Linked DNA regions of Homo sapiens: regions 1, 3, 4, 5, 6 and 7 are each linked to region 2. The links are contacts of gene promoters, found by promoter capture Hi-C in blood cells and fetal thymus (Javierre and others, 2016). All regions are on one chromosome and are shown on one strand. The core of a region is centred on a gene start or on the middle of the fragment in contact, and the rest is flanking DNA. Distances in the headings are between cores, read along the strand shown.

Region 1 (2,892 bases), core at 42-2,541, 800 kb after region 2:
GGATCCCTTTTGAGCCTTTTCCAGTACAACAACACCAGATAGATGAATGGATACATTTCATGTGTTTTTTGTTTTGTTTTGTTTTGCTTTTTTTTTTTTTTTTTTTTTTTTACCTCTAACTGCAAAAGAGATCATTATATCAGCCTCTCCTTCATACAGCCTGGAGAATGTGAGTGGAGTCACCTCTTCCCAGACTTTCAGAGCTTTCTCAACAGCAGAATCAACAGCATCTTTTGGCAAATCTGGTGTATAATTCACAATCCTGTAGGAGAAAAATTGAAGCAGATGCTATTTTCTCCTATGATATAGTTTATAAAATTCCAATCTTATGTGAAAACCCCTCTGAACCATTACCTGTATGTAAGGTGGGTTTTCCTCCACTTCGGGATGCCAGGAAAGGTTCTGAAGTGACCAACATCAGGAACTCCACACCTGGGCTTGCGCATCACCTCCAGAGTGTCGGAGTCCAGCTTCCCCGTCACCTCCAATCCAAGGAACTTCTGCATTTCTCGGATTTTTTTAACAACAGGACCACTGTCCTTTCTCCTAACAAACTGTTTCACATCTTTTTTGAGGTCGTAGTAGTTTTCTAGATATTTCTAACAGAATAAGTATAGTTTTTAGGTCACTCTTACAATTTTTACTATAGCTATCTATTTATAGTAAGTTTTTGCAGTTGCTCACTTCTTAATCTATTTGGAGTATTTCTCTAGCTTGCTGAAATAATGGCAAATTTTATAATATGATACTAGCAACACAAATATTTAGCTAAAATTACGTTGCATTAAAAAAAAAACTGAAGCTGTTCCAAAGCAAGATATGGTTCATCCACTCTCCACTTGTTACTCATGTGCCTTAAGCCCCAGTGCTGCTACTGCTATGGTGTTGTGTGATCTTAAGAAAACACCTAATATTTCTGGCCTTTGTTTCTTCCTACATAAGAGGAGAAGCCCAAATGGTGTGATAATGAGACCTTTTCCACTTCCAACACTCTATAACTCTCTATTCTTGAACTGTTCCTACACAGTAAGCTCAAGCATTCTATGTGGGTTTTAAGACACACAGAATGGTTTCAGCTTACTCTGGAAGCTCCCCACCTGGCCAGGTCAGTTAGTGTTAATTACCTGAACAAGGTTCATGCTGGTGTCCTCACCCCTTGCAGCTCCATCCAATGGATAGGCTGAGCAAACTGCCACGCACAGCAACAGTAGGATTGGAAGACTCTTCATTTCCACTGGCTTTACTTAGCTCTATGTTGTCTCTATGCCTTGCTGTCTTGCCTGCCTCCTTGTAGGTCCAACCTCGGGAGCGCAGCTTTTAAAGAGTGACAGTGTTTGTTTGGATCACCCGCAGCTTGACTCATCCTTGCTTTCATCCAAATGGCAGCAGGACCATTTCCAAACATTCCAAATTCAAAGTAGGATGATACAACCTACTTTACTAATTTCTCTCAACCTTCCCAATTTTGCAAGGCAACACAGTGATTAATCTCCAGGAAGTGCTTCCTGTCTTGGTAGAGGAGAAAACTGGAGCATTTTTTTTCTTCTGGAAAAATTGACTGGAATTCACTAGACAATTTATGTTTGTCCTTTTGAGAGAAGAAGTAGGTTGACTTGGTAAAAATCAGAATTGTGCAGAACTTCTAAAAGCAGTTTTATTTTAAGAAACACATTATAAAAGCAAATAAAAGATGTAAGTGGAAAGTGTACATACATAGCTATAGTCTATACTATATACAATTATACTCAAAACATAAAAGATAATATCTAGAAGAAATTTAGAAGGGGTGATTTATTTTTCTGAATCTGATTTGTAATGCCTGCTATTGACTGTCGTTGGATTTGCTGGTTCTTGAGGAGGAAAACCTCATGGGCAGAATAGAACAAAGAGGGTCTGTGAAAAAGAAGGAAGTATATTCCCTTTGGGTTGGTTTTAATTCTGTAACCAATTTATTAATGGGTGATGGGCCCACGTAGCTGCTCCATAAATAGTTGTAGAATTGAAATGAATTACATTGCTTACCGGACTGAAATTCTCTCTGTCCTTGTCTTCTACACATGTCTTATTCTCTTTCAACCTTTTCCCCTCCTCCCTAAATTCAAATTAGCAGATGCTTTGAAGTTGAAGAACAGAATCCATCCTAAATTTTCTCTTCATGCTCTTCTGTTTTCTTCCTTTCCTTTCTTTTCTGTTTCTTTGTCAAGTAAAGTGTTGCTCACATTATTGGTGTATAATAAATGCTTGAATGCAAGACTCTAAACATATTCAGAGGAAGACATTTTGTAAAACTTTTATAGTCCTCTTGCCACCTGCCACCATCCATCTCCTCAATGCTTCCCTGATCACCACATTTTGTTTGTTCTTTCTTTCTTTGCTGACTTGCTTATTTGTTTGCTAAAGGGAAGAACATCTTGGGAGTAAGAACTCAGTAGAATGATGGATACAAATGTGCATTTATTAGACCTTTAATAAGTGCCCATTTTGCTTCCTCTCATTTATAACTCTTTTGCATTTTCTTCTTTGCTTTATTTTTTGTGTGTTTCTTAATAAACATTGGAGAGATTTTACCCAATAAGTTTAAAGGGATTTCTCTGTGGCAATAAGATCCCTATGACTGAAGATGCCCACACAGTTGATAGCCACTTGGCAGGGGGCTATACATCACATTTAAGCCTTCATTTTTAGACTAGATTATGTCTAAAGACTTTTTCAAATTTTATTTAAAAAATAGAGACAGAGGTTTCACTATGTTGCCCAGGCTGGTTTCGAGCTCTGGGCTCAAGTGATTCTCCTGCCTCAACCTCTCAAAGTGCTAGGATTACAGACATGGGTCACGGCACCTGGCCTAAAGACATTTTAAAACTAGTATTCTATGGTTCTCCATTCCTTTGA
Region 2 (2,938 bases), core at 330-2,829:
AGACTGACAACCCTTCTTCCTCCTAATGGACAAAACACTCAAATAGGCATTTCACTAAAGAAGATATCCAAATGACCCAGCATATTGCAAAGTTGCTCAGCAACATTAACTATCAAGGAAATGCAAACTGAAATCACAATAAAAAATTAATACAAACTCCCTAGAATGGCTAAAATTTTAAAAGACTGGCAATACTATGTGTTGGCAAGGATGTTGAACAACGGGAAATCTCATTCATTGCTGGTTGGGATGTAAACTGATCTTTAGAAAACTTTTTGACAGTATGTAGTAAAGCTAGACATACTTATGCCATGTAACTGAGCAATTCCAATCCTGGATGTATTTCCAACAGAAATGGTGCATAAGTCCATCTAAAGGCATACACAGGAATGTTCATAGCTGCTTTCATAACAACCTCAAAGAGGAAACAGCCCAAAAGGATAAACTGTAGTATAGTCAAGTAACAGAATACTAAACATCAATGAAAAGGAATAATCTATCTCTCTCTCCCTCTGTTTCTCTTTTTTGTCTTTGTTCCCTGTCTCTTCTTCTGCTAATGCTGTTAAAAAATAATCAAGTTCTTAAGGGCTAGGGGAAAAGGAGAGAAAGCAACGAGATGGAAAAGAACTATCCCTCCATTCTGAAGTCCAAATGCACTGCTATAAGGCAAAAATAAAAACCATAGAAACAGGCCGGGTGCGGTGGCTCAAGCCTGTAATCCCAACACCTTGGGAGGCCGAGGCGGGCGGATCACTCGAGGTCAGGAGTTCGAGACCAGCCTGGCCAACATGGGGAAACCCTGTCTCTACTAAAAATACAAAAACTTAGCCTGTAATCCCAGGTACTCAGGATGCTGAAGCAGGAGAATCACTTGAATCCGGGAGGCGGAGGTTGCAGTGAGCCGAGATCGCGCCACTGCACTCCAGCCTGAGCAACAGAGCGAGACTCCATCTCAAAAAAAAAAAAAAGTAGAAACGAAGATAATTTTCAATAGAAAATAAGAAAAGTGTGTTTTCTATTAAACAGCACGCATACCAGAACAAAAGTGGTCTAAAAAACAAAAATAAATAAACAGCATGTTGTAATGTACTGTGTATGGAAACATTTTTTTTTTTTTTTTGGCCTTCAAGTGTACATTTTAAGGAAAAAAAAAAAAAAACAGATGGTAAAACAGAATAGTTTCCTAAGTAGTCACATAGACATTTGTCTTCCAAAATAGATAAACCTAATTAATTCAGAATAATCTTTTCTTCAGAAACGTTTGAGTCATCAAACGTAGATAACTGTAAATCTGAGGTTATAGCTCTTGAGACTAGAATATTAACCCATGCTGAGTAATTATTATTAAAAGTTAATGTCAACAAGTATCGATTGGCAATTTGTCTCCATCCCCGACCCCTAGTTTCCCTAACCGCCAAGCCCGGGGTTGGGGAGTGGAGTGGCACAAGCTCCTGGGAAAGACAGGCTAACCTCCCTCCCTGCACCCGCGGCGGCAAGGCCGGAACTCCTGGGTCCCTAGAGACGTGTGGCCCCGCCCCCGCAGCGTCGCTCCGACACGACGGCCGCCGCGTCTCCATGGAAACGGCCCAGGCATCCACCCAGCCGAGAGCACGATGGCTACTGGGGAGCTCGGGGACTTGGGTGGCTACTACTTCAGGTTCTTGCCTCAGAAAACCTTCCAGTCTCTGAGCTCTAAGGAGATCACCAGCCGGCTCCGCCAGTGGTGAGGAACCGAGGCACAGGGAGAGAAGAGGCCCTTGGTCTTCGCGGCTGTGGAGGCGCAGGCCGGGCGTCGAGGGGCCCGCGCGGGTCGGCGCCATTCTGAGTGAACCCTGAGGCTTCCTGAGTGAACCCCGAACCACCCGGGAAGGGCGGATGCTGTGGGTGGGATCGGTTATCGGTGCGCTCTGAGAGGGTGCCAGCCCCCAGATGATTTCTTTTTCCTCCTCTGCCCCAGGTCCATGCTGGGCAGAATCAAGGCGCAGGCGTTCGGCTTTGACCAGACCTTTCAGTCCTATCGGAAGGATGATTTCGTTATGGTTAGTATGGGGGTCGGAGAGTTCCCTGGGTCTCTGCGGATTTTTAAACTTCCCCCCAAGTTGGCATAGATTCTTGTGAACACGCTATTCCTTACTGACGTCGTTTTCTTGGCGTTTGGGAGTAATAAAAGGTGCAAATGATTTTTTTAAAGGAACTTTTACGTTTCGAATCAGTCATCATAAATTTGTTTGCCATTTAGTTCATTCTTTCTCTACTTTCAGCATCTTGTATCTTGCCTCGGGGAACTTTGCAGTTCTGGAAGATCGCGCGCTCTCTAGAAGATTAGTTTCTCCCTTTGTTTATTTTTGTTTCATTTTATTTTGTTTTATTTTATTTTATTTACTTATTTTTTGAAACAGGGTCTTTCTCTGTCACCCAGGCTGAATAAAGTGCAGTAGCACCATCTCAGCTCACTGCAGCCTGGACCTCCCGGGCTCAAGCTTCCTGAATAGCTGGGACTACAGGTGCAGGCCACCACGTCCAGCTAATTAAAAAAAATTTTTTTAGAGGCAGAGTCTCACTATGTTACCCAGGCTAGTCTTGAATCCCCGGGCTCCCAAAGTGCTGGGGAGTACAGGCGAGCCACCACCCCCAGCCTCTCTTTTTCAATAGGCACATCTCATTTTAAAATATTTTAAATATTATCACACAGCTTTATCGCCGCTTTATTTACTAGCTCCAAATTACTTTCGATTTTTTTCTCAACATCACACCCACTCTGAGAACTGGGCTTCAGGCTCTACCAACAGTTCCAAATGAGGAATTCCCCCAAAAAAGTATGAAGCCGTAGCACAGTGATTTGAATAAGTCTTTTGACTACTAGAGGTGACTACTTTGAGAGAGGTAAAACTCACTTGAAAGTTTAAGTTTTGGTGTGTTTGTTAAAATTTAGTCCATT
Region 3 (2,953 bases), core at 281-2,780, 680 kb after region 2:
AACAGAATATCTGAAGCTGGGTAACTTATACATAAAAGGGGCTGATTTTCTCTCACAATTCTGGAGGCTGGGAAGTCCAAGATCAGGTGGCTGCATCTGGTTGGCTTCTGAGATGGCCTTGTGCTGTGTCATAACATGGCAGAGAAACAAAAGGGGAGCAAGCATGTGTGAAAAGGGGCAAAACACAAAGGGCAGCCCCTCTTTATAATACCCATTCTATTAATTACTAATCCAGTTCTGCAAGAGCCAGAACCCACTCCAGCAAAAATTAATCCAGTCACACAAGAGTGTCATTAATCTTTCTTAATGACCTAAGTACTTCTTAAAGGACCCACTGTCACATGGGCTACTAAATCTTTAACACATAAATTCAAGGGACACACTCTAACCACAGCAGTAGGTGACACTGACCAGATCACACGCTTTGGAATCAGACAGGCCTGGGTTCAAATCTTAACTCTGCCATGAATTAACTGTGAGCACTTGGCCACATTATTTATCTGATTTAAGATATTTTTGTCTCTGAAATGAAAATAATAATGCTCCAATAAGGTTCTTGTGAGGATTAAATGAGATATTTGTGAAATGTGTAGCAGTTGCCTTGCATAGAATAAGCACTCAATGGACTTTACATTAACCCGGGGGTTACAATTAAGAGATAACCTCTTAATAATAATAATGCTTTCTCCAAACTATAATGCTAAGAAAACTGTGCATGAGAGATTTGTGACAGAATTCCCTTGTGTTTCTTAAAAATTTGGGTTCACTTTCAGACTGTGAAACAATGGAAAAAAACTATTGGTTCTGCTTTTATAATGCTTCCAAGAGTTTATAAACAGTCCACAATCTGATGCTGGGAAATATGATTTTACTGTGTACTGATTTCTAGTTCATTGTAATCTACCATCCTCACATTATTTTCTATATCTGGAATTTTTGGCGGCAAAGAAAATGCCTGTATGGAAGCACCAGACATATAGTAACTTGATTGCAGATATCCTGGAAGGAAAAACCTTAGGTAAATGAGAAAGAAAATGATACCATTTTATAAATAAAACCATTTCTTCTACAAAAGTTTCCCAACTAGGGGTAACTCTACAGCAGTATTTTCCCAGCCTTTAAAGAATTCAGCTTGTTTTCATGTCCGGCTTTTAAAAGGCCTAGTCCTTACCAGCTTGGAACCCTCCAAATCACTAAAAGGAGATGTTCAATCTCAAACTAATCACCCAAATAATTTCTTTCAGGCTGTTTTAATTAACAAGAGAAAACAACCCACACTATTTCCTAATAATCAGCAAATCAAACATCACCTAACTGATAGTTCATTTACCTGAACAGTTTTTGTATTTTTCTCTTTAGAAGATACAGGAAAGGCCTTGGAAATCTGCACATGGAGTAAGAGCAGAAATGGAAGCGTCTTCAGGGAGAACATGATCTTCTCTTCAAACTCTACCCCTCCTGGCTTTCTTTCTGTCCCTCTGGGTAGGGCCCTTCCCTGGCGAGCACCCTGACGTTCACAGCATCATGTGTCACTCACAGCTCTCTTGCAGTCCTCTTTAAAGCCATGTCTTAAACAATTGCTGCATCAGGAATATGAAGCAACATAGGTTAATTACACTCTGACAGTTTTGCAATTTTATAATGTGATTTAGTACCCCCAAATGGGGGAGTCTTTCAACAGTCTTTCAAAACTCCAACTTTCTACTCTTTGCTTTTGGATGTTTTAGTTATTTCCTTTTACAAAATTGGTTGAGGAAAAGGAACAAGGGACTAATCCTGAAGTTATGTGGATACATTTTTTGACTATGTAAGATGTTGAGGTTGAATTAACTTATGCAGGGGAATATTTTGAGGTTTGTGGTAGATATCTTGGGACCAAGGAGCCCAACTAGAGAATCTCTGTACTTACCCTCCCTCATTGTATGTGGAGAGAATGAGTGACTGTGTTATTACAAAGCAGGCTTTGTATGGGGCCTAGAGCTGCTTCTGGAGGATGTGGTTTGGTATCAACATATTAGAAAATCCCTAGTCTATAAGTTAGACTTTCCATGGAAAAGATAAAGAGAACAATACTGATGATGATAATAATGAACATTTGCTAAAAAATTATGATTGCCCAGACATTTGTACTGTGTTCCACATATTACCCCAATCCATCTTCACATAGCCTTGGGAGGGAGATGCTATTACTATCTCCATTTTACAGATGAAATCAAATCCAGAGACATTTAGATGACCTGTTTAAGTCACATGTTTCATTTGTGGAGGGGCCAGGATTCAACCCCAGAGGGTATGTTTAGAGAGACTGAGCTGGGAGCTACTATAAGCTCTGCATGGTAGTCTCCCACTTGAGTCTCTGGCTGGGCCATAGTGGAGCAGCAGCTCTAGGCCTTCAACAGCTGGATACTTTGGCTTATATTCACAGGCAGAAGACAAGGGAGAGGGAGAATGAGATGTTGTACATCTTCAAGGAGTAAGACACTGAGAGATTTCCAGACAATATGGCTACATAGGAGACTGTTTGTCAGAGGCCCCTGGGCATGCTTTTCAAATCATGTAACCTGGTCCCACTTATTCTGAGTCCACATGCATGTAGTTTGTTATCATACACAGTCTTTGTGAATACTCATTTACATATATGCATACATATTTGGTAAAGGCAGGTATTCTTGTGTATAAATGCATGTGTCTACATGTATGATACATAGCATGTATTAATATGTAAAGAGTGTATTTGAGATGCTATGATAAGGAGTTCTGATCTTTCCTGAGGTCACTTAGGAACTTTGAAAATGATCCAAAGAAAGGTGTCTTGGGTTAGAACATATCTGGACAGCAGATTAATGTTAATGATGTATATTCCTACATTCATTCAGTAAACATTTCCTGTCATCTACTACATGCCACATGCTGTGATGGGTGCTAGAGTATTGGAGATAAATTAATAGAGGTT
Region 4 (3,044 bases), core at 1-2,500, 910 kb after region 2:
TGTCAGCAATGCCATCGTGAAGTCTGGTAAAATTCAGAGGAGTTACATCGGACCAAACTTTGAAGGCTTTTTTGAATGCCTTTTCGACTTCAGAATGAGTCATATCAGGGGTGTAATTCACAATTCTATTTAACAGAGAAAGTTTCAATGAACTTTTTGGAAAGTGACAGCTATTTTAGAATACATTTTCTTGGTATATTGCTTTTCAATTCAAAATGCAATAATTTCTTTGAAAGTTCTACTAGAGGTTTATTGTTTCAAATAATGTATTAATTATGATGCCATACAAGAATAAAAAGTCAAAAATTCAGCCACATTTGAGTATCTCCAAATATCTGACCATGTGGCATCTTAAATTTAAAATATTCCAATGTTTAATATAATTTATTTTGCATGCTAAAAGTTTAGATTACATTGATAAAGCTCAAATAAATGAAATAGCTCTGTAAAGTTTCTAGAAAGAGTGGAACTCTTCATCTTGAGCACTGTTGTAATAAATACACCTAATGTACTATGTTTGCAAATTTTCTTTAACCTACTTTTATTTCTCTTTTGATTTCATCTCTAAAAGAAATACTTTGAGATGCCCACTAAAAAATAATGCTGAGTTAATGTAACAATAATAGATGTTATGAGGTATTCTCGGCAACCATATTAAAGCTATTCTGGAATTTAACTGCCAATTAAATAATAAGGCCTACTTAATATTAGACATTTAATACTACAAGAAAAGGCTAACAAATATGAAAGAAAGATAGCCTATGATTTACCTGTAGGTTAAATTCATTTTGGACCATTTAAGAGTTCGAGGGAAAACATTGTATTCACCCACATCAGGAACCCCGCATCTTGGCTTTTTCATGACATCTAAGGTGTTATCGTCAAGTTTGCCAGTCACCTCTAAGCCGAAGAAAGACTGCATTTCTCGGAGCCTCTCAGTCATGGAGCTTGCTGCATTCTCCTTCAGGATTCCCGCGAGATTTGTAGGATGGTAGTATGATCTCAGGTAGCGCTAGAAAAGACACCAAAATGAACTGCGTTTAAAAGAGAAGGACATTTCTGAGATGTACCAACCGCATCATCAGGATTGGCAAGATACTCTACCTCTGCAAACTGGAGGTCTTCCTCAGACAAATCATCTTCATCACCACCACTGGGAAGGGGCAGGGCCCGACAATGAGTCCAGCTCAAGAAGAGGAAGGCAGCCAGGACCCCTGGATGCATCTTGAATGGTGATGCCTGGGGACTGTTGTCTTTCCGCAGAGATTACCTTTACTTTTATAGGCCTGCAATGGTGAGTCATCACTTATGGATAGGTTTCCACTTCCCAGTCACTTGAAGGTAAACATGCTTACGTGGCGACTTTTTCTTTTCCCTCCCGAGTGTGGTTTGTGGTAGAATTTGAGGGAAATATAAATGAGAGCATCTCTTGTTTCAGCAGGGTCTCAAAACCCATCTGGCAAAATAAACGGCCTCAGCATATTTATGGATACTGTGGGAAGAAGCAGAGAGTAGTACATTTTTTACTTCACTTAGCAAAATTTTTTTTTTTTTGCCTTCTGTAAGAACGTATCTACTTTTGCTTCTTCGAATAATAAGTGTATCAAGATGGCATGTTTACTTCCATAAAGAGAAACTTAGTACTGATTCTAGAATGTTTACTACTGCCTGGTAAATTATAAACTGCATTTTCTCTAGAATAACTACAGAGAGATGTCTTGTGTCTACCTGAAGTTCACGATATTGGACCAAAACCAAGCTTGATGACTTGGAGGTGCTACGGCACAACCGCAGGATTGAGCCCCATGGTTGGAATTTAAACACACTGGCATGACCTCTCGACAAATATGGAGTCCTGCATAAATTCCCTACAGATTCAGACAGAGGTAGAAGAATTACATTGGAACGGAACAACTGTAATGGCTAGCACAAACAGGGATTACTGCATTCTAGGTTTAAAAGGCATTATCTCATTTAATCCTTACAACAGCCACATAGGTGCTGTCAGAAAGCTTGTTTTCCATTTTACATATGAATAATCTGATACACTGAGAAGTTAAATACTTGTATACGGTCATATAGTTTATAAATGATACCAGGATTTGAACCTAGGCCAATAACTCAAAACTCAATGTTCTTGACCACCGTCCCTGTCTAATTATGACCTCCACCCTTTCCATTCTCAGATATTTTCTTAAAAGCTGAGCTGTTTGGTTCCTACACCTCAGGGAGTGCCCAAGAAAACTAGGGCTGCAGTAGGCCAATTTCAAGTTTCTCAATTTTTAAGTTTGAATAATAGAAGTAATCTTGGTCCAACCATCAGGAAAATAGTCCTAGGGGCCTCTACCCTATTATTCCTTTCAGAACATCACACATTCAGTACCGTGAAATCAAAGTGCCATCTTTGGTCCCCTGCAGAAGTAAATGGGTAGAGCAATATAGGCCATGATCTTTGGATTTATTGGACTTCTTTAAATAAATGATTGGAAATGCAGGTTAATTTGAGTGACTAAGAGTCAGAAAGAAAATGCTGCTCAGGTCAGGAACATAGTAAGACAAAGAGAAGGAGCATGAATACAGCTTTAGGGTGAGTACGAAATGGGTATCCTAACATATGAGTAAAATCCTATAATCTAGAGTAGCCAGTGCCTTAGAGAAAAATCAGAAAAGCCTACAACATGTATGTGATCATTTGAGGGAAATTTACTATATGCCTTTATCCAAACAAAATACAGCCAAATATACCCTTTCAAATAGATTGTTTCCAGTGAGTTCAAGATTAGATTGGTGCTCAATCAGGAATGCAAAGCAATAATTTATTTTAAGTTGCTTCCATGTATCATAATATTTAATTTTGAGATTAAGTGAAAAATTATCCAAAAAAGTTTGATTCATCGACTAAGCTTATAAAAGTTAGTTTATTAGAAAGCATTTGTTTTTACAAATAAATTTTCATAATATATTAAAATCTCATTAGATAAGAAGTGCTTAAGAAGCTGGAAAACAAATAACATTTTATTAAACATTTGAAAGTGGAGAAAAAG
Region 5 (2,989 bases), core at 438-2,937, 580 kb after region 2:
AATATTCTTTGCTTCTAGGCTAACCTCTGCCATTGTGGCACAAAAGCAATCATAGACAATCTGTAAACTAAGGGGCAGGGCCAACTGTAGTTTTCCTGAACTGTGGATTAGAAGGGGGGTCTCCCAACACCTCAGATCCATTCTGGCCTCAGCATGGCTCTCCTTCTGGAGGTCACAAAACCTCTTTAGTTTCAGAATCACAGTGGCATGAGGCAGGGTAGGGAAAATTACATTTGGGAAGAAGGCACCTAAAGCTAGGTGGCATGGACAAAATACAATTGAATAAGGATCCCAGTATCCTGAGTTATTTTGAATTTAGTTCATCTAAAAGTGGGCTAAAGTCAAAAGAAGTTCAGTTCAACATGGTTGTGCTGGGCATCAGCTGTGCTGTTCATCTGCGGGGCTGATATTTAAGTGTTTAATGACTGGTATGGCCGGGGAACTGACCAGTTAATAAGGATGAGTGGCAGAAACAATCGGTAGGGACATGCCATTGCACATGGGTGCAAATCAGCTCTACGATGCAGACAGCCAAGCGGTACACAGGTGCAGCCTGGCAGTCAGGAAAGCAGCCCTGAGGCGGAGCTGGTGATCACAGATGTGCTGTAATGTTGGCAGACTCTTGAAAGGGAGGCCTGTGTGCAAAAGCATTTCCTCTATATATCTTTCACTAATGTTGGAAATTCCATCCGTAGACATCCATTTCTTTAGGTTAAGGATGCCACCCTTCTTTTAAAAACAAAACACGCTTGGAAGCATATATATATATATATATATATATATATATATATATATATATATATGTAGAAATCATTTTGAGTCAAGCAGTCTTTGTGAAATATTTGAATATGGATCATTTCTATCAGACCCTTTCCAGCAGTCATAGAGGAGAGATCTCAAAAGAGGAAAATACACAAAGTTTAAGTACATAAACGTTGTACTTTGTACTTACTACATAAACTTTGTTATGTACTTTGTACATAAACTTTTACTTCATTGGGGAATATGCTTTAGGGAGAAAAGGCCTTCAAATGAGAAGTGGGTTGGCACCCAGGAAGAACTTAGTCCACTTTAAATTTTGATCAGGGTTACCTTGAATATAAGAGCCATTTAAAAAGTGGAAACACAGGAAATCTCCTTGTTGTGACCGCTAAAGCTTAGCACTAAATTCACAACCTGCCTCTAGCGTGTGGATTATGCCTCGGTTTTTATTTTTCTGCTTCTATTTTTCCTCCTACATCATTCCCGGGAAGTACTTGTTTGCTCCTTTTATATTGCATGGTTTTCACAAGCCACCTGGAATTCTTTATGAAGCAAGATAGCTAGGTAGATATATCCTCATGTATTTATTCAGTCATGTAACATGGTACACCTAATATGCACCAGACACCAATCTAGGTGGACAGAAGATAGCATCAGTTAGACTTCAATGGACTTATATAAAATGATTTTAAAAGAACAATAGAATTTTTTTCTTATTTTCTCACTATGCCCTTTTAGGTTTTCTAGGGCAGAGGAGCAAGAAGGAATTGGGCAAAAATTCACAAACCTGTGCGAGGCGGTAGTTGTTCCTCCAGGTCCTGGGGGAGGCTGCAACTAGGGAGGGGGCTGCAGTGGAAAACTTCAAAGCCATGATGAGGAAGACAGCAAGGCCAGATGCAGGGAGCACCTTCATCCCCTCACAGTAGCTTGGTAATTATATCAGCCTGGGGGATGGCAGACAGTGCACGTTTGCACTTCGACCTTGAGCTCCTTTTATAGAGTCAAACAGGTCTGGACCCTCCGAGCAAGGATGATTCATGTCTCAAACAGTAATTATACAGCTCATTTCTCTCCCTGATGATGGGGTAACACAACTGTACACAGGAATCAGGGAAAGCTTCATATTTTTTTTGTTATTTACCAAGTGGCAAAAGGAGAAAAACAGTCACTTTTAATGAAGTTGGTCAGCTAGTTACAAAAATTGAAGTAAACTTGATTGATTTGAACCCAACTCAACTGAAACATTTGATTAGTCTTCATTTGGGGGCCTTTTTCCATTCTGATTACAGAAAAGTTAGATGATTACAGTATAATTGAATTTGTCCTCCAAGTAATCCCAAACTCCCCATGCATTCAACCCAATCGCCTGTATCTCCTGCATTCACTTCAAAATTTCTTAGTAGCAACTGCTGTTCATAATGATGGCTCTGAGACACATAAGATCCTGAATCATCAAGGCAAGATTACATTATACTGTGCTGACTTAGGGTGGAAAGTGAACTGGTAACTGTTAGAAAGCTTTTGGATGAATTAAGGCAAGAGTTACGTCTTCGTTAACCAAAACAATAGCCAGAACTCCCCAATCTCTGTGTACTCTGGTTAATTGGAGTCATATTGTTTTTCCTGGGTCTGATTAAGATGGATTTGGATCCAGAGATGATACGGTGAAATGGTGTCATATGGTGGGAAAAGCACTTAGAGTCAGACAAAGCAAGACTAAATATTTAAAAAGATATTTCCTAGCTGTGTGATGTTGGGTATGTCATTTAATCTCTGAATATCAAGTTTTTTTTAATCTACAAAAGACTGACAATACTACTACTATGTATAAACTTTTCAGTGTTATGGAGTAACACATATAGCATGACATCTGCAAGCACCACTTGGCATCCACTAGATGTGGATTCAAATCCTAATTTTGATTTTAGACTAAATTCAAGGTTATTCCTATAGTGAATACAGTGAATTCCTATAGTCTTTCTCACTCTGTTGCATTTTGATATGCTTTCTTTGCATGGAAGAGAAGATGGTGGAGTTACAGCCAATGTTTGGTATCTAGTGTACAACCCCAGGCACTGAACAAGAGTTTGTCACACATTAATATGGTTTGGCTCTGTGTCCCTAACCAAATCTCATCTCGAATTGTAATCCCCATGTGTTGAGGGAGGGAGGGGATTGGATCATGGGGGTGGTTCCGTCATGCTGTTCTCATGACAATGAGTGAGTT
Region 6 (2,878 bases), core at 335-2,834, 750 kb after region 2:
GAATGCATTCTTTCAACTAAATCAACCAATATTACAATGAAACATGAAGGGGTGGGAGAATTGAGAGAGGCAAATTTGATTGGCTTACCTCTGAAATTGTTGGTCCACCTTTCATCTTCATCAAAATGAGCATCCCCTCCAATACCTGGGCCTGGTTGAAAAGCATGAGCAAGATTTCCTCCAGGTCCATCAAAAGGAGAGTTGTCCCGATGATCTGAAAGAAACAATTCAACAAAGATTCCTTGTGGTTCTTATGTAAGCTAAGCCAGAAGGGCAAGCATTAGCTTTGTTAAGAGGCCAACAGACTTCCATCAACTGTGATGCAGTTTCCCTCTTCGAGCCCATAAAATCAACATTCATCTTAAACAATCAATTCCAGTTGCAAAGCTACGAGATCTAGGGGCAAGGTGAGGTTAAGGTGCTATAAGAAGAACTTACCTCCCCTGACAAAAGATATCATGATGTCTGCTTGACCCTCAGAGACCTTGGTGAATGTCAGAGGTGTGACATTACTCCAGAGTTGGAAGGCTTTCTCAATGGCATGGTCCACATCTGCTCTTGGCAAATCTGGCGTGTAATTTTCAATCCTTAGAATGAAACAAAATAGAGACACATTGGACATGACTTCTTACCACTGTCATGGGAAATAGCTCTCTCACTCTGGCCCTCAGTCTGCCTACCTGTAGGTCAGATGTGTTTGCTCCCAGCGAGGGTTCCCCTCAGTGAGGACAAACTGAGCCACATCAGGCACTCCACATCTGGGCTGCTTCATCACCTTCAGGGTTTCAGCATCTGGTTTCCCAGTCACTTTCAGCCCAAAGAATTCCTGCATTTGCTTCAATTTTTCAACCACTGGGCCACTATTTCTCCGCTTTTCAACTTGCCTCCCATCATTCTTCAGGTTGTAGTATTTTTCCAGGTATTTCTGACAAAAGAAAATTATCGAAACACTGCATGGGAAATCTTTCTCATTATTCTAAAAATTGATGGCATTAAGTTTTAGCCAAAACAGAGAACTGCTTTTAAACCTTGTGTTTAGATTTCGCAGTTGCTTTTATCCTTATTTTTGGTGAGAAATGAAATTTCAGAGTAGAAATGTCCCTACTATTAGTTATTGTGAAGTAAGAACTTCATAGTAGAGCAATTTTTGTAGAGCAAGATTTGCATACTGTTACAAGTCTACAATTTGTGGAGACAAGTTTGGATGTTGTTCCTTTAGTTCACTCTCACCTCCAACTGGAAAAAGAGAGCGTATGCATGGCTAGATACATTTTGGGTGGAGGGTGCTGTTTCTAGCAAAAAAAAAAAAAATCTCTTTATAAGAAACCTATCCTTAAAAAACTCTATTACATTACTGCAGAAAAATACAAACTAAAAATTTACATTATTGTCACATGCAATGCAGCATTTACCTGGACTAAGTCCACATCTTGCTCTTGTGTTTCTAGAGTCGCTGGGAAGCTGTGAGACACCACACCCCAGAACAGCAGCAGCAGCAGTGGAGGAAAGCTGTGCATACTGGCCTTTGTCTTCTTTCTCAGTGCAAGGTAAGTGATGGCTTCCCAGCCTCTTGCTGCTCCAATATCCCAGCTAGGAAGCTCCCTCTGTATATATAGAGTCCTTGCCCTTCCAGAAAGCCAGAGGCTGTCTGACTCATGCTTTATAACATCCTCTTGATTAGCTATGAATAGACTAGGCAATCATTAGAAATGGTGACTCCTAGCAGATTATTTGGAATCACTTGGTGTTGCAATGTCATGATTAACTTCAAACAAGATGTGTGCGAAGGAGACACACTCTGCCATGTAAACAGTGGTTTTCTCCAATTCATTTCTTTCCTATTTGAGAAAGGTTCTTGTTATATACACAGGTCAAAGAGTACTCCATGGTCTTTTTGAAAAAGACTGGTTCTGATGGTCATAAAGTGCTACAGGTTTCTCCACACACCTTGCTCCCAGGGCAGAGGGTGGAATTACTAACACTGCGCACCTGATGGCTGTTCGGCACCTGTACTGACTGAAGTTCAGCTCCCCCAGCACTCACTTTACGGTGGCTCTTCGGGGTTCTCTGAGGTTCCCTTCTGCCTTTGTTAAGCTGCCTGGTACCCTATTGCGATAGCACCATGGCTTCCCTTAATCTTTACTCAGAGCCAGGCATGGTGGCTCAAGCCTATAATCCCAGAATTTCAGGAGGCCGAGGCAGGGGAATCACTTGAGCCCAGGAGTTCAAGATCAGCCTGGGCAACATGGTGAGACCCCATCTCTGTAAAAAACAAACAAACAAACAAACATTTTTTAAAGTTAGCCAAGCATGGAGTCATGCACCTGTAGTCCTAGTCACTGAAGAGGCTGAGGTGGGAGGATCACTTGGGCCTGGGAGGTTGAGGCTGCATTGAGCTGTGATTGTGCCGCTGCACTCCAGCCTAGGCAACAGAGAGGGACCCTGTCTAAAATAAAATTTGAAAAAATTTACTCAGGCCTAGGATTTAAGAGCCTTACCTGAGAAGACCCCTCATCCACAGGCGGAGTATGAGATAACTCCCCACCCCTTGCCCATCATTATCATGGGACAAATAGGATCCTTCCCTGAAACTTGTCTGAATGTACCGGATGATGAAAAGGCTGGAAAGAGACTGAGCGTGACTCTGGGGTCTTATTTTTAATCATACTTGTTTCCCTTGATATGAGTCTATCTTCGCTCCTTGGTGCTAGGCAGCATTTATTTATTCTTTCATGTATGCATTCATTCATATATTTATGCATTCCTCCATTCAAAAGATCTTATTTAGCATCTCCTGCCCATTAAAATAAATACATGGCTCTGTAATGAAAGATGTGTATTCCTGTACTTATGTTCCACATTAAATTGTCTTGGGTAC
Region 7 (3,004 bases), core at 63-2,562, 660 kb after region 2:
GAATGAATATTATTCTGTTCCTTGGAAATTATCTTTATGTTCCTTTGGATTAGGCGGAAATAAGCTGGCAGAAGCATTACCTGTAGGTGAGGTTGTATTTTCTCCACCCAGGGAGGGTGTAGCCATACTGGCCCACATCAGGCACCCCACACCTGGGTGTCTTCATGATCTCAAGGGTGTTTGAGTCCAGTTTTCCAGTCACTGTCAATCCAAAAAATGCTTGCATTTCCCGAATTTTGTCATCTATGAGACTCCTATTCTTGCTTTGAACAAGATGATTCCCTTCTATTTCAAGAGAGTAGAACTGGTTGAGATATGCCTGACCAAAAAGATAAGAAAAAAAAAAAAGAGGCACAGACTACAGGAGAGCAAATCTCCATCTCAGGATAAAGCAAAATTGCCTAAAATTCCTTCTGGCAATAGGAAAGGGGAAAAAAAAGAAGTAATGAGAGAAAGTGAGGAGTGAAGGAGGAAAGAAGAAAGGAAGGACACAAAGAGGAAAATAACGAGTCACCCTGCTCTTTCAATTTCCAAGACTTGGTTGACTTATGAGTGACCAGAATTAGCCAAAGCACGCAGCTCTTAAACCTCCACAGAAGAGAATGAAGCTTCGTCTGTCTGTTGAATGATGACCTATCTTACATATTTTTGCTGTTACTTTCATTTTGGTGTTTCTTTGAAACAAGTTCTAGGATAAATAAGTGATTATCCATTTTGCACATGTATTTGCTTTAACCAAAAATAAAAAGTTAACTGAACTGATTTTTAGAGGGAATCTGTAAAGCAATGTATTTTTTTTCATACATATAGGGATTAGGGCTCCAAATTGTAGATTGGGTCCTCCTGGTTGTCTTGAAATGCTTTTATAGTGATCTCCATACCTTGCAGGGCTCTCTCCTTTCTCCTCGCACTAAACATCCCTTCATTTGTGACCATTGCTAAAAGTTATAGCAGATCCTTTCCCCCTCCCTGTGCCAGCCCTCCTCCCCAACACAATTTCCTGATATCGTCAGAGATAGACAAATGAAAAGCAGTTCCTTCTCACAAAAAAGTTCAGGACTCTTTTGCAGGAATGTGTTTTCTTTTTAGGTCCCAAGAGAATCAATAAAATAAGCTTTTTATCAATAGTCATCGATATCATTTATTAAGACAGTACCTGAGCCAGTTGCATATTTTCTTCATTTTCCGTCATCCGGACTAAGGGAAATGCAGAAGAAAATGTTATAAAGAACAAAAACAGAAGCAGAAGGCGCTTCATTCCTCTCTTTCTTCAGCTGAAGCCGGTTCTGTTAGCACAGAATTTAGAAAATAATAGTGAGACGTGGCATGAATTGGCTTGTATCATCATTTAATTAATAACAGAAAGGGACACTTGCCATAAAGTGTGTCATGATTTGCTTTTTTTTTTTTTTTTTTTTGACTGAGCTGATTTTGTAATCTTGGCCTGCAATTGTTTAGTAAACACAGTTAGTGCTTATTACTGAATTGAATATACTGGGAAGTGAGCCTCCAAGTTATTTTTTTTTCCTTGCAAAGTTTTCTTTTGAAGGCAATCTCAGAATATCTTGGTAGGATGTTATCATAAAAAGACAAATGAATCAGGAGTCAGATTACCCTTATTAACTAAGATAAACTTCAAATGTTTATTGAATTCCTACTGTTTGCCTGCCCCTGTGAATGCAATCTTGTTGGAGAATTCAGACACATACAGAAATTAATGTAGGACAAAAAGGAGGCAAGTGGGCAAATACACAGTGCAGATTGTAAAGACTAAGAAGGGCCAAAGGCAGATCATTGCTTATGAGTGTGGCCTTGAGGTTTTATGCAAGTTAAATACAGCCTGCACTGGGGCTTGCACTAGGGCTTGCTCTGGGTTTTGGAGAATGTGTAGAATTTGGATTTACAGAGGAAGGAAGAAGAAGTATGAGTGCAAAGAGGCCATGGGAAGGAGGTAACACAGCAGAAATAAGCTGCAGGAAATCTGGCCTGACTGGAACAAAATACATATGTAGACAGCTATGGAAGATGGGATGGAGGGTCTCATGGACAAGACAGCTGACTGGGAAGATGAAGAGTCATAGAGGTCATGGATGATGAAGGCCAAAATTAACATCAGAAGTGAGAATATAGTTAGTGAGAGCCTTTTGGATTAATTTCAATATATTCTTCTTTACTTGGGCTACTTTTAGATGAAGGAACAGTCTTAGTTACAGCAATGTCCTCCCTCACTTGTCCTCCCCTTTTCTTCTACCAATTATTAAAATTTTCTTCCCTTTCTTCCCAAATGTTAACTCCTCAATCGATACACCTTTCTAAATCTTCCTTGTCCATATCCTAAACAAAATTTATATGGCATAGCTGAGGAACTTATAGGATCTAAGTAGATACATACTTCCTTTGCATTTAAAGCTCATCCCAGTTATAAATCTTGTTTCAGAAATATTATTATTTACTGTTTTAATATATGTATATAGTTTAAATTGTTTAATTGGCCTCTGGAGCAATGGGATGAAGGGGAGAAGGCAGACATGATCAGGATTTGTGTTATAATGGTATTAAGTACAAGTATGCTAAGTACAAGTATGCTCATTGTATTGTTCTTTTGTGTTTTTTAAACTCTAAAATATTTCAGAACAAAATTTAAAAAAAAATAGAGTTACCAGAAAAAGGGAAGTCAAATGGTGCTATCTTGTTGTAACGAAAAAGCATCTCTCTGCCCTAACCTTTCGCTCCTTCAAGTCCTGCTCCCCAAAGGTAACTTCTTTAAATTATTTTTATAGCTTTTTATCTTTATGTTTAACTCCACATTTGTAAATAACGTGCTTATGCTACTATTTCTCGAGTTTTCAAAGTTAAATGTTATTATTAACATCTTCCTATGGAAAAGAAGGACTTAACACTCCTTCTGCTTTCCTAATTTGGTTATAGGAATGTTTAAGCCCGTAATCAGCGTTCATACAATTATGACCATGAAAATATTATTCACAAGAGAATCACGTAGTAT

What was found. Contacts are between HindIII fragments. The CHiCAGO score rates a contact against its expected background, and 5 or more counts as called.
Region 1: a contact is called between the fragment with the promoter of MMP3 here and the fragment with the promoter of CFAP300 in region 2, in 6 of 17 cell types (M2 macrophages, total CD4 T cells, monocytes and 3 more). The highest score is 10.1, in M2 macrophages.
Region 3: the fragment with the promoter of MMP8 here is called in contact with the fragment with the promoter of CFAP300 in region 2 in 9 of 17 cell types (total CD4 T cells, naive CD4 T cells, non-activated CD4 T cells and 6 more); the score reaches 18.3 in total CD4 T cells.
Region 4: the fragment with the promoter of MMP13 here is called in contact with the fragment with the promoter of CFAP300 in region 2 in 11 of 17 cell types (total CD4 T cells, M2 macrophages, monocytes and 8 more); the score reaches 13.2 in total CD4 T cells.
Region 5: a contact is called between the fragment with the promoter of MMP20 here and the fragment with the promoter of CFAP300 in region 2, in 14 of 17 cell types (non-activated CD4 T cells, erythroblasts, activated CD4 T cells and 11 more). The highest score is 15.1, in non-activated CD4 T cells.
Region 6: a contact is called between the fragment with the promoter of MMP1 here and the fragment with the promoter of CFAP300 in region 2, in 9 of 17 cell types (neutrophils, fetal thymus, M2 macrophages and 6 more). The highest score is 12.9, in neutrophils.
Region 7: a contact is called between the fragment with the promoter of MMP27 here and the fragment with the promoter of CFAP300 in region 2, in 11 of 17 cell types (total B cells, total CD4 T cells, megakaryocytes and 8 more). The highest score is 19.8, in total B cells.

What each region holds. Positions count from the first base shown.
Region 1 is chr11:102,842,318-102,845,209 of GRCh38, forward strand. MMP3 (matrix metallopeptidase 3) reads right to left here and starts at 1,292. Exons shown (of 10, transcript NM_002422.5): 1 at 1,125-1,292; 2 at 355-599; 3 at 114-262. The coding sequence starts at 1,229. The HindIII fragment of the contact is 9,261 bases long and covers 1-2,892 here.
Region 2 is chr11:102,045,858-102,048,795 of GRCh38, forward strand. CFAP300 (cilia and flagella associated protein 300) reads left to right here and starts at 1,580. Exons shown (of 7, transcript NM_032930.3): 1 at 1,580-1,723; 2 at 1,958-2,039. The coding sequence starts at 1,614. The HindIII fragment of the contact is 7,683 bases long and covers 1-2,478 here.
Region 3 is chr11:102,723,424-102,726,376 of GRCh38, forward strand. It overlaps MMP8 (matrix metallopeptidase 8), which reads right to left and starts at 1,531. Exons shown (of 10, transcript NM_002424.3): 1 at 1,331-1,531. The coding sequence starts at 1,432. RefSeq lists an enhancer at 738-1,937. The HindIII fragment of the contact is 5,644 bases long and covers 1-2,953 here.
Region 4 is chr11:102,954,482-102,957,525 of GRCh38, forward strand. It overlaps MMP13 (matrix metallopeptidase 13), which reads right to left and starts at 1,251. Exons shown (of 10, transcript NM_002427.4): 1 at 1,105-1,251; 2 at 771-1,012; 3 at 1-125. The coding sequence starts at 1,224. RefSeq lists an enhancer at 684-1,883. The HindIII fragment of the contact is 7,221 bases long and covers 1-1,757 here.
Region 5 is chr11:102,623,645-102,626,633 of GRCh38, forward strand. It overlaps MMP20 (matrix metallopeptidase 20), which reads right to left and starts at 1,688. Exons shown (of 10, transcript NM_004771.4): 1 at 1,550-1,688. The coding sequence starts at 1,675. The HindIII fragment of the contact is 723 bases long and covers 1,155-1,877 here.
Region 6 is chr11:102,796,576-102,799,453 of GRCh38, forward strand. MMP1 (matrix metallopeptidase 1) reads right to left here and starts at 1,585. Exons shown (of 10, transcript NM_002421.4): 1 at 1,413-1,585; 2 at 681-925; 3 at 439-587; 4 at 89-214. The coding sequence starts at 1,517. It also overlaps the pseudogene WTAPP1. The HindIII fragment of the contact is 10,818 bases long and covers 1-2,878 here.
Region 7 is chr11:102,704,457-102,707,460 of GRCh38, forward strand. MMP27 (matrix metallopeptidase 27) reads right to left here and starts at 1,313. Exons shown (of 10, transcript NM_022122.3): 1 at 1,157-1,313; 2 at 81-319. The coding sequence starts at 1,258. The HindIII fragment of the contact is 3,149 bases long and covers 1,113-3,004 here.